Linked DNA regions of Homo sapiens: region 2 is linked to region 1. The links are contacts of gene promoters, found by promoter capture Hi-C in blood cells and fetal thymus (Javierre and others, 2016). All regions are on one chromosome and are shown on one strand. The core of a region is centred on a gene start or on the middle of the fragment in contact, and the rest is flanking DNA. Distances in the headings are between cores, read along the strand shown. Region 1 holds the start of CEP131 (centrosomal protein 131). Region 2 holds the start of RPTOR (regulatory associated protein of MTOR complex 1).

Region 1 (6,111 bases), core at 957-3,456:
GGTGGCGGGCACCTGTAGTCCCAGCTACTCGGGAGGCTGAGGCAGAAGAATGGCGTGAACCCGGGAGGCGGAGCTTGCAGTGAGCTGAGATCGCGCCACTATGCTCCAGCCTGGGCAAAAATGCGAGACTCTGTTTCAAAAAAATAATAATAAATAAATAAATAAATAAGTAAACAAATAAAACCAATCCCTGACAATACCAAGAGCTGAGGAGGATGGGGAGCAACTGCAACACCTGTGGCACTGGTGGGAGCGTAGAGCTGTACAACTTCTTTGGAAAATAGCTTAGTAGGCCGATGTGGTGGCCCACGCCTGTAATCCCAGCACTTTGGGAGACCGAGGTGGGTGGATCACCTGAAGTCAGCAGTTCAAGACCAGCCTGGCCAATATGACAAAACCCTGTCTCTACTAAAAATACAAAAATTAGCCTGGCATGGTGACATGTGCCTGTAATACCAGCTACTCGGGAGGCTGAGGCAGGAGAATTGCTTGAGCCCAGGAAGTGGAGTTTGCAGTGAGCCAAGATCATGCCATTGCACTCCAGCCTGGGCGACAGAGGGAGACTCCATCTCGGAAAAAAAAGGAAAAAAAAGAAAAAGAAAATAGCTTGGCGGTTTCCTTTTTTTTTTCTTTTTCTTTTTTTTGAGATGGAGTCTTGCTCTGTCGCTCAGGCTGGAGTGCAGTGGTGATCTCCGCTCACCGCAATCTCTGCCTCCTGGGGTCAAGCGATTCTCCTGACTCAGCCTCCTGAGTAGCTGGGATTATAGGCAGACGCCACCAGGCACGGGTAATTTTTTTGTATTTTTACTAGAGACGGGGTTTTGCCATGTTGGCCAGGGTGATCTCGAACTCCTGACCTCAGGTGATCCGCCCACCTCAGTGTCCCAAAGTTCTGGAATTACAGGTGGGACCCACTGCGCCCGGCCGGCAGTTTCTTATAAACAATCATTTGATCCAGCAACCCCACTCCTGGGTATTTACACAAGAGAAATGAAAAGTTGTGTCCACACAGAAGCCGATGAGTGAATGTTTATGGCAGCGTCATTCATAATTGCCAAGCACCAGGAACAATCTCTGCGTCCTTCATTTGATGAATAAAACCATCAATAAATAAAACCATCTGAACCGGTGGTTCACACCGGTTACAGGATACCACTCAGCAATAAAGAGGAACCAGCATGAATCTCAAAATGCGAAGTGGTAGAAGCCAGACCCACAGGCGCGCTGCGCGACATCCCTTTTGTGTGACATTCTGGAAAAGGCTGCCTCTAGGGATGGAGAACAGAGAGAACTGAGCAGCCGCCACCAGCAGTCAGCAGGTACGGGATCCGGAGGGAGAATGTTCTGTAACTAAAGTTACACAACTCCACTGCACACCAAAAAATGTGGATTTTACTGAAACCAAACTTTTTATTTTACAGAGCACTGGACTTTTTAAAAAGCGGGGGCAGGGGAGACCAGTGTGCTGTGACTTTTAGGGGAAGGATGGCTTCCCTGGAGAGGACCTGGGCGGAATCCCCAGGGCTCCCGGAGAGAGGGGGAGTCACAGAGCGGCTACGCACGGGGCGCAGCGTTAAAACTTTGGAGAAGGAAAAAAAACAACAAAGCAGCGCGAAGGGAAGGAGGTCAGGGAGGTTAGCAAGGCGCCCACACGCCCTCGCAGTCGTACTGAGTAACGAGGGGAGTCGCGCACGTGGGTGGGGACAGAGCGGCCTAGGACACTGGGGGAGCCCCGGGCCGCGGGAGTGCGGCGGCCTGGGGGTGTCGGGGAGCCGAGCCGAGGCCGCGTGCTCCTCGCGCCCTCCCTGGTGTCTCCTCCCCAGGCCCTGCGTGCCCCGCCCACACCTGCCTTGCCCCGCCCACATCTGCCTCGCCCTACTCGCCCATCACACCCCCACCTCACGCCCCGCCCACAACCGCTGGGGCCCCGCCCCTGCCCGGCCAGCTCCTCCCGCCGCCCTCGGTCCCCCGCCCCCTATATGACCCGCCCCTTTCCAGCCGCGTCCAATCGGCCGCTCTCTGTAGTCGCGTCCCTCAGCCATCCGCCGCTCCTCCCACGCTTGAACTTCCCGAAGGACAGCCGAGCGGCCCAATGAGCTCCCGGGACGGCCTGAGCGGGAGCGTGAAGGGCCAATCCGGAGTCGGCGCGCGCAGGAAAGGCGGGCCGGCGTGACGGGCTGGGGAGGTGGTGCCAGGCTGGTTGCTAGCTGCCGCCGCTGCTCACCCCGGCCGTCCGGCCGCTTCATTGTCACCGGGCCTCGGGGCAGTGTTGGGGGTGGCGGGGCGCCAGGTCGCCGACCCGAGGTTTGGGCGCGACTGGTTCCGCATCCCCTCCCCGCCGGCCGAATCTGCAGGCCCCGCGCGCCAGGCAGGCTTCGCGGCTGCGCCCCCGGCCCGCGCAGGTGAGGGGGGCCCGGGCAAGGGAGGGGGTTGCAGGGCGCACGGAGGTTGGAGGGGTCCGGAGCCCGCGCAGGTGGGAGGCCCTGGTCCAGTGATGAAGTGATGGGGATCCGGGGCACGCACAGGTGAGTGGGGGGATCTGGTGCCCGCGCAATTGAAGGCGGGATCCGGGGGAAGTGAGGGGGATCCAGGGTGCGCACAGGTGAGGGAGGTCCGGGGCCCGCGCAGGTGAAGACAGGCTCGTGCCTGAGGGTGTGGGTCCCCACCTCCATCCCCTCCACCCTCTCCACCTCCCTCCACTCCCCTCCGGTCCCCAGGACAACATGGAGTCCAGTCCCGGCATCTCTGGCCCGGCTGCCTTAAGCCCTGGGGAAAATGGGGAGATGGGAGCTGCCCTGAGGACAAGTGGAGGGCTCTGCTCTGCGCGTGGGCTCTGGCCTCTCTGTCCAGGGTCAGGGTCAGGGTCAGGGTCAGCCCACCCTGGGAACCAGGTCCTGGCGCTGGTCATCAGTCCCCGCCCCTTCAGGTCCTGGGAGGGACACAGTTTTATCCAAGATGTAGTGGCCTCCCAGGCCTCCCTTCTTCTGGCTTGGAGGTTTCCATGGAGAGGCCCCGTTCGCCATCCCAGAGCCGCTTGCAAGTGTGGCTGGGAGAGCAGAGTCCTGGGCTCCAAGGGCTTGCATGGGTCCAGCCAGGGGTGGACAGTGCCCTGCAGGAGGAGGGTGTTAAGTTTCTTCCGCACAGCCGGAAGTGCATAACTGAGGACTGGGACCTGGTCAGTGGCAGGGTCAGCCTCTAGGGAGTAGGGGTATCCATCGCTCCGTGGAAGGGACCTTGGGGGACCTGCTGTGGGGTGCCGGGCTGAAGGAAGCCCAGGGTGACCTTGGGCGATAGGCTGGGTGCCTGCTGGCCTACTGGAGGCCACCGTGGCAGGGAGGTAATTCTCGAGGTTGGTCCCTGGCGCCAGCTTCTCCCGTTCATCTACGGGTTCAGCTGAGTGCCTTTCCCTGCAGGTGCTGGGGTTGCTCAGGAGCCACACAATTCATAAACCAACTGTGTGCGGCCACAGGAAGGGAGTCCGAGCCGGATGGGGAGTGAAGAGTGATGGGTGCTCAAGGAAGGCCTCTGAGTGCAGGGAGGGAGTGTCCTGAGACCTAGAGGCAGGGGACTGGCCGGGGCCAAGCTGGCTGAGTTTGAGGAGAACCAGGGAGGCTGTGTTGGCTAAAGCCACAACAAAGGGGCACAGCAGGGGAGCTGGCGAGGTCACAGAGAGTACAGGGCCAGATCTTGCAGGAGTTGGATGTGTAGACTTTATTCTCTGTGCCTAGGAAGCTGTTGCAGGGTTTTTGGCAGGGGCACATGCACGAGCTGAGACCCGTTCAGAAAGATCAGAAAGACTCGTTCAGAAAGAGGTGCCATGTGGGGACGGGCTGGGGGCCGGCAGGGTTTGCTCTGAGAAGTTCCAAAGTAAGGAAGCCAGCATCCCCAAGCTAATCCCCTCGATCGATCGTCAGAACCCCCGTCCCCTGCTGGAATAACACATTACCCAGGGAGTGTTTGCCCGGTGCAGCCTTGAGGCCTTGAGACCAGCATCTTGTCTGGACCTCACAAAACCACTCCCGCGTTTTTTTTTTTTTTTTTTTTTTGAGATGGAGTCTCGCTATGTTGCCCAGGCTGGAGTGCAGTGTCACGATCTTGGCTCACTGTAAACTCCGCCTACCAGGTTCAAGTAATTCCCCTGCTTCAGCCTCCCAAGTAGTTGGGATTACAGGCGCTCGCCACCACGCCCGGCTAATTTTTTGAAGTTTTTAGTAGAGGTGGGGTTTCACTGTGTTGCTTAGGCTGGTCTTGAACTCCTGAGCTCAGGCAATCTGCCTGCCTTGGTCTCCCAAAGTGCTGGGATTACAGGAGTGAGCCACTGTGCCCGGCCAACACGCAACCCCTTTTTAAAATGTGTATTTTTACTTAGGGGCCGGGTACGGTGGCTCATGCCTGTAATCCCAGCACTTTGGGAGGCCGAGGCAGGCGAATCACCTGAGGTCAGGAGTTCGAGACCAGCCTGGCCAACATGGCAAAACCCCGTTTCTACTTCTACTAAAAATACAAAAATTAGCCAGGCGTGGTGGCGGGCACCTGTAATCCCAGCTACTCAGGAGGCTGAGGCAGGAGAATCGCTTGAACCCGGGAGGCAGAGGTGGCAATGAGCCGAGATCGCGCCACTGCACTCCAGCCTGGGTGACAAGAACGAGACTCTGTTTCAAAAACATAATAAAATAAAAAATAAATCAAATGTCCCTTTTACAGAAGAAAACAGTGGGGCTCGGGGCAGTGACTTTCTCAGAATCACGGTGTGGGGTAGATGGCAGAACCTGGCTCACATCGACAATGGCCTGTGGCCCAGGCTCCCTCTGGGGTGCTGCTGGCTTATTCCCACCCACGGGCCTTGCCCTCGCCACCCACCTGTCCATCATCCAGGGCCCTCCTGCCCTGGCATACACTGACATTGGGCTCAGAACAGCTCCCTCATGTTCCTGTCGAGGAGCCTGCCACCAGCCAGAGGGGTGCATAGGTTGTGACAGGCCTTCCCAGGAAGTTTGGTGGCCAGTGGACCCAGCTGAGGCTGGGCTGGAGATGGTGGGTGCAGGGGACTGTAGTTCCCCCACGGCATCTCATTGCAGCTCTTGCTTCCCCGCTCAGGACCTGCCTTGTCCACCATGAAAGGCACCCGGGCCATCGGCAGCGTCCCGGAGCGCAGCCCAGCAGGTGTGGACCTGAGTCTGACAGGTCTCCCTCCGCCTGTGTCCCGGCGTCCTGGCAGTGCCGCCACCACCAAGCCCATCGTCCGCTCTGTCTCCGTGGTCACAGGCAGCGAGCAGAAGAGGAAGGTGCTGGTGAGTACTGTGGCCTAGGAGTCCGGGCCCCTGCCTCCTGGAGGGCTGTTGTTCAGTTGGCATCTGACCCCTGGGTCCAGCTCCACAGGTGAACAAGTGCCTCACATCTGGACATGCTGGATCCTCGTGGCTGTTCCAGGAGGCAGGTAGGACTTGAGTCTTACAGGCGTGGGTGCTGAATCACTAGAAAGTCAAGCCAGAGCTTGGATTCTTTCAGCAACAGCCCCAGGCCTCCTGTGCCACCGCCCTTTGGATTTGTTTGAATCCTCAGGAAATGGGGTTGGCTGGGCTCGGTGGCTCACGCCTGTAATCTCAGCACTTTGGGAGGCCGAGGCAGGCGGGTCATCTGAGGTCAGCAGTTCAAGACCAGCCTGACCAACATGGTGAAACTCCGTCTCTACTAAAGATACAAAAAAAAATTAGCCGGGCATGGTGGTGCATGCCTGTAATCCTAGCTACTCGGGAGGCTGAGGCAGGAGATTTGCTCGAACCCAGGAGGCAGAGGTTGCGGTGAGCCGAGATCGTGCCGTTGCACTCCAGCCTGGCGACAGAGTGAGATGCCATCTCAAAAAAAAAAAAAAAAGAAAGAAATGGGGTTGACCTGTGGGGAGGGGTGATGAGCTCCTGGTGGCCTTGGAGAAACCTAGACGGGTGTGTGGGTGTGTGGGCAGCAGGACAGCCGTGGGAGCTTCGGGGTGAGAGCTGCCTTTCCTGCCCACCTCTGGGAGTAGGGAGGAGGGTGGGTGGTTCCCAGATGGGGGCTGTGAAAGGCAGGCCGGGCCTGCTGCACCCTGAGTTGGTGTCTGCCAGGCCCAGTCTT
Region 2 (6,111 bases), core at 2,399-4,898, 680 kb after region 1:
AGCTTGATCCTGGGAGGCGGAGGTTGCAGTGAGTCAAGACCACACCACTGCACTCCAGCCTGGGCAACAAGAATGAAACTCCATCTCAAAAAAAAAAAAAAAAAAAAAAAAAAACCACCCCAGGCTGAGCGTGTTGGCTGATGCCTGTAATCCTAGCATTTTTGGAGGACAAGGCAGGAGGATTGCTTGATCCCAGGAGTTCAAGACCAGCCTGGGCAACACAGTGAGACTCCCCAACCCCAGACACACTGGCGCACACTTATAGTCTCAGCTACTGGGGAGGCTGAGGTGAGAGGATCACTCAGGCCCAGGAGGTCGAGGCTGCAGTGAGCCGTGTGATCTCACCACTGTACTCCAGCCTGGATGACAGAGCAAGACCCTGTCTCAAAAAAAAAAAAAAAAAAAAAGAAACAGAAAAACACTCCACAAATGGGGTTGTTCAGCCTGCAGTGTTGGACTACAGTGTGTTTGGTAATAAATCTGAATTAGTATGAATATTTACAATAAAAGAAAAAAAAAGTTTGCTGACTTCTCAAAGACAAAGAGAGAGGCCTGGCCATAGCCCAGTTGCCCCTTCAGTTATGGCATCAGGGAGCCCCTGTTCCCACCCTCCAGAAACTGTCACACACACTGTGCCAAATGTCAGCTGCCATTTGTCTTTATCTTTGAACCTATGCCATTATTCTTCTTAAATGTGGCCTGTTTCATTCTCTTATGCTACCATCCCCACTCAATATCATTTGAGTTTGCAACTTCTGTCCTATAGCATGTGTGATACGGTCCTTGAGGGAAGAGATGACAAGATTCCAAAGGACCTGACCTTTGGAAGAGGGAAGAGATGACAAGATTCCAAACTCCCACACACTCAACTGAAGATGTTAGCTGCTGATTTTCTCCACCGAAAAACAGATACAGCAAACTTTCTCCCCAGCTCCTTTCTAAGCAGCAATCTCAGTAGTCACTAAGAGTCACAGAACTTTTGTTTCTCTTAACAACCTGTGAAAAGCTTATTAGGGAATGTTGATCATTCACAAATTAATGTTTTAATTAAAAGGTCAAACGTATACCCATTAATCAGTTTCAAACTGTTGGAACATAGGTTTAGGACAGCAGAGAGAACCACATTTCAAAATAACAACAACAAAAAAACTGCCCTCCACAAAGAATTTTTTAAAAAGTCTTTTCATATATGTATAGCAACCACAAAAGCTTTTAACTATATAGTTACTACTAAAGATGTCCATAAGATAGAATTTATACAACCTCCCCCAATGACTAACTTATTTAACTCCTTAAAATGCTTTTGGATGAAACAAATTTTCCTAACCTTTTAGAAGTAAGCCAAGTCAGTAGCTAACTGGTTACTACTGACTGACTGACTAGAGTTACCAGAAGTTTTATTTATTTATTTATTTTTGAGACACAGTCTCACTCTGTCCCCTAGGCTGGAGTGCAATGGTGCGATTTCGGCTCACTGCAACCTCTGCCTCCCAGGTTCAAGCGATTCTCCAGCCTCAGCTTCTCGAGTAGCTGGGATTACGGGCACCTGCCACCAAGCCCAGCTAATTTTTGTATTTTTAGTACAGACAGGGTTTCACCATGTTGGCCGGGCTGGTCTCAAACTCCTGACCTCAGGTGATCCGCCTGCCTTTGGGAGGCCTGCCTTGGCCTCCCAAAGTGCTGAGATTACAGGCGTGAGCCACCGCGCCCAGCCCAGAAGTGTAATCTTATATATGTTCAACATCATATACTAAAAAACAATAATATTCCATAAACATATACATAAGCCTAGAGAAAATCAAACATTGTAACACCAACTTCCTCTTTTATACCACTGAAATGTGCAAATAAAAGCAGCCTGGAGGGAGAAAATAACTTACAAAAAGACAAATTATAAGTGTGCATAGAGGAGAAGCAGTACTACCCTTTTGCTTTTGAGGCCAGGAAATAGATGGGTGTTTTATGAAGGACAAATCCAACAAAATTCGGCTGTTTTCTTTCCTACCAGCTGCTTGTGAGTCACTCTCCACACTCCAAACACCATGCGGACACCCTAAAACCTGCACCCAAGTCTCGACGCCTCATACCCTAACTCACGATTAAAGAAATCCTGTTTCCAAGTTACAGCAACAGGACACTACATAAAAGGAGGAAAATCTAGCTTCAAGAGAAATTGTTTAGAAGACTAGAATGAAGTTCAGTGTAACTTTATAATAACTTTGCACTAATTTGTTACTAGTTGAACATTTTCCAGTAATCTCATTTCCTAGCATAGTATATCAGACTTCTGCACTTCACCCAGCTTGGATATTTTAAAAAGTAGACTAATCATGTGGGTATAAAGATTATATCGCACGTTGTCCTTCCTCTAAGTGTTTACAGAACTAAGTAGTATGCCAAAGAGCATGTAAATACTCGCAATGCTCTATTTTCAAATTTGCTTAACTTTTATTATCTGAATTAGAACTTAGTTGGAATTGAATTAACACTACCCAGTGAATAATGACTAACCAAAACAGCATTTTCCATTTTCAACCAAAAACTGCAGTCTGAAATGGCTTTTGCTTTCTAGTTGACTTACAACGTGTGGCTAGGGGGAAATGTCGGCGCTTTCCCAAGGACACTTTTCGGGCTGTAAACTTTCTTTGTTGGGGAAACTACCAAGTTCAAGGGGTGCCTTCAGAATCCACTTACCCGATCCTTCATCCTCCAGCTCTGAGCTAAGGATTTGGAGCCTTCAATTTTCTCACAGTGCCTCTTTTTCATAAAAGCCAAAGGTAGGTTCCAGTCTGTAAGATCAGCCTCATCTTCCTCCCCCAGGCCCAGAAGAGGCGATTGCAGCATTTCGGACTCCATCAGTGGGGGAGGGGGTGGGGGAGTCCTTGGCAGCAAGCGCTCGAGAACCTCCAGCCTTAAAAACTAGCGTGTACCAGAATTGGTGAAATAAGAAACAAAAACGGGAAATCGAAAACCAAATGGATAAAGAGTGCGGAGACCCTTACTCAGGCAAAAGTCTGAGATCCTTATCTCTAACTCTGAGCGGGAAGTGGGGAGGTGGGGGCCGCTAGGAAATGGGGCAGCCCAAGAAGCTCCGCAGACACACACCACCCCAGGTCCCAAGCCACTGGCTGCTCCTGAGGCTGTACGTTTCCAGAGGGGCTGCGAGGGGAGCTGCCAAAAGCGTAAGAGACTTCAGGCCTCACGATGACCCTGCTCTCGGCCTCCACCGCCTCAGCAGTTCCGAAGACAGGCAGGCCGCTCTTGGTGCCGGTTCGCCCACTGGGCCGACTGGGCTGAGGTCTCCGGCCAAGGGATCGGGTTCAAAGGGCCCTGGGTCTCCTCCAGCCACTCTCAGCCCTGCGGGTCCCGCACTCGTCTGAGCTGCTGCAACCAGAGCCACGACCGGCCCATCGTGCTCGCCTGCACCCGGTTCCTCAACCTCAGGTCCGCGCGGCCTGGCTGGTCCTGGCCTTCAGCCCCGAGGCTCTCTCCTGCCTGAGAACGAGTCCTGAGAAACGGGCGACACGGAACCACGGAGGAAAGGGACAATGTGGGCTTATTGGGTCATGGGAGCTTTGCCCTCTGGTTTGGAGCTACAGTGAAACTCATCTCATCAGCCCATCAAGGAGGACGCCATATTGCCAGGACCCAGAATGCACCGCGGCCTACGGCGTGGCCGACAGACCAAACCTCCTCAGAGCGGTCTCTCCCCGCCACCCAGCATGCAGCGAAGGAGAAAGAGTCCCCGACCCCGTTACCTCGGTTACCATAATTCCGTTTTCCCCAGTTAATCGCCATTTGTTCAGTAGAGGCGTGTTATTAAAGTCAATCCTACAAATGAAACTGTCGGTTTAATTTATTTTTTCAAAAACATTGTCATTATAAATGAAGTTACATGCTCCTGAAATTAAAGGAATCAACCGCCTTGTTTCTTCCAGATTTTGAAAAAGCGGCAAAAGCTTCACTGATAATATTAGAAAATATTAAAAAGCACTGATAATATTAGAAAATATAGTACTTTTTTTTTTGGAGTGTAGTGTCCTCCACAGTGTCAATCAGATTTTCTCTTTAATTTTTTCATAGAGAACCAAGTGAAAGGCCGGGCGCCGTGGCTCACGCCTGTAATCCCAGCACTTTGGGAGGCCGAAGCGGGCAGATCACGAGGTCAAGAGATCGAGACCAGCCTGGCCAACATGGTGAAACCCCGTCCCTACTAAAAATACACAAATTAGCTGGGCGTGGTGGTGCGCGCCTGTAATCCCAGCTACTCAGGAGGCTGAGGCAGGAGAATTGCTTGAACCCGGGAGGCGGAGGTTGCAGTGGGCCAAGATCGTGCCACTGCACTCCAGCCTGGGAGACAGAGCAAGACTCTTCAGATGAAGAAGGGTCTGAAGCAACAGAAGAAGAGTCTGGAGCAAGATTCGATGAAAAAAAATTTCATCTAATACAATTTTTTGTTTAATCTGTTTCGTTTTCTGAGCAGTTTATCCTTTTTAAATTTTTTTCCCACTTCTTGGTAGCAGTAGTTTATTCTTATTTTGATATAGCTTCACGTGCAGACATCTAAAACTACATGTCTGTGCGTGGAGGCAAGCCTCTTGTGTGACTCTCTTTTTCAATTCAGGAAATTTGGCTCATTTACAATGTATAGAGAACTGTGTAAGGTGGACTATAAAACCAAATGTAGGCAGGGCACCGTGGCTCACGCCTATAATCCTAGCCCTTTGGGAAGCCGAGGAGGGTGGATCACGAGTTCAGGAGTTCGAGACCAGCCTGGCCAACATGGTGAAACGCCGTCTCTAATAAAAATACAAAAATTAGCTGGGCGTGGTGGCGTGCGTCTGTAGTCTCAGCTGCTCGGGAGGCTGAGGCAGGAGAAGAGCTGGAACCTGGGAGGCAGAGGTTGCAGTGAGCCGAGATTACACCACTGCATTCCAGCCTGGGTGACAGAGTGAGATTCCATCTCAAAAATAAATAAATAAATAAATAAATAAATAAGAATAAAACGAGGCCAGGCGTGGTGGTGCACGCCTGTAATCCCAGCACTTTGGGAGGCTGAGGTGGGTGGATCATGAGGTCAGGAGTTCAAGACCATCCTGGCCAAGATGGTCTTGATCTCTCAGGATGGTTTTCCGGGGCTTAGACACATGTGGCCATCCATATCAAAATCTTGATGGCATTTGTGTTCCTTTCAAAATGAGAATGAAGAATACAATCCCAGACCTTTCTCACCCAGCACAAAGCAAGCCTTTAATAAAGGCTACAGGATTAAATCATTGTCATTCCGCACATTCGTTTGGTTATTACACCCCATGGAGCCAATTCTCCTATTGAAACTCAGGGCACCCTCTCTGTTGGCAGAGACTATCCTCACAGTTACCAGCAGAGGCTTCAGGGATGCAGGGTCTTAGGAAGACCCCGTTCTCATCTGAAGGCAACAAAATCACTCCTGTCCTCTGCCTTGTCACCTTGCTCCCCACCTCCGGTGGCTGTAGACAGCTGCATTCCAGCAGCTCTTGCAGGAAGTCACAGTTACAGAAAAGCAGCAACGCTAAACCCATTCATCCCTAACTAGCTCTGTGACCTGGGAAAGCCCACTGAATCTGTGTGAGACTCAGTTTCCTCACCTATAACGTGTGTGACCTTGGGAAATCCATTTTTCGTATCTGAAATTCTAAACGAAGGTGTCAGTGAGCACGTTGAAGTCCAAACCCACCAGGTGGTCAGAATCGCCCAGGAAACTAAAATTCAGGATGCCCAGCTTCCAACCCAGAGCCCCAGATCGGGGAGCAGGGAGACCGGGATTCAGAATCTGCATTTTTTTTTTTTTGCAGTTTTTACAGTTTTATTTAAACACAAAACATGCACATGAGCTGTCTGCTCGTTTTCTTCACTGCGCAGACTGGCATGGGGGTCAGTGACTCTGATGGCCAGCTGGGCGGCTCTTTCTGTGGTGGCTTCGCGGTTCCTGGAGGAAACACTGTGAGCGATCTCAGCGCAGTAAGAAGTGTTGTACATCAGCAGCACTTCCAGCTCCTTGACGTTGTAGACTGAACTTCCAGAAGCCAGTGGGCAGCGTGTGCTTTGTTTTTTTGTTGCTCCCATAACCAA

Evidence for each region. Contacts are between HindIII fragments. The CHiCAGO score rates a contact against its expected background, and 5 or more counts as called.
Region 2: a contact is called between the fragment with the promoter of RPTOR here and the fragment with the promoter of CEP131 in region 1, in 1 of 17 cell types (erythroblasts). The highest score is 5.4, in erythroblasts.

The regions. Positions count from the first base shown.
Region 1 is chr17:81,219,060-81,225,170 of GRCh38, reverse strand. CEP131 (centrosomal protein 131) reads left to right here and starts at 2,206. Exons shown (of 26, transcript NM_014984.4): 1 at 2,206-2,402; 2 at 5,098-5,291. The coding sequence starts at 5,115. RefSeq lists silencers at 1,614-1,983, 2,144-2,473 and enhancers at 1,835-2,504, 2,505-3,174, 3,175-3,845. The HindIII fragment of the contact is 19,797 bases long and covers 1-6,111 here.
Region 2 is chr17:80,542,375-80,548,485 of GRCh38, reverse strand. It overlaps RPTOR (regulatory associated protein of MTOR complex 1), which reads right to left and starts at 3,648. Exons shown (of 34, transcript NM_020761.3): 1 at 2,695-3,648. The coding sequence starts at 2,856. It also overlaps the pseudogene RPL32P31. RefSeq lists enhancers at 2,301-3,127, 3,055-3,154, 3,435-3,794, 3,128-3,954. The HindIII fragment of the contact is 2,750 bases long and covers 1,212-3,961 here.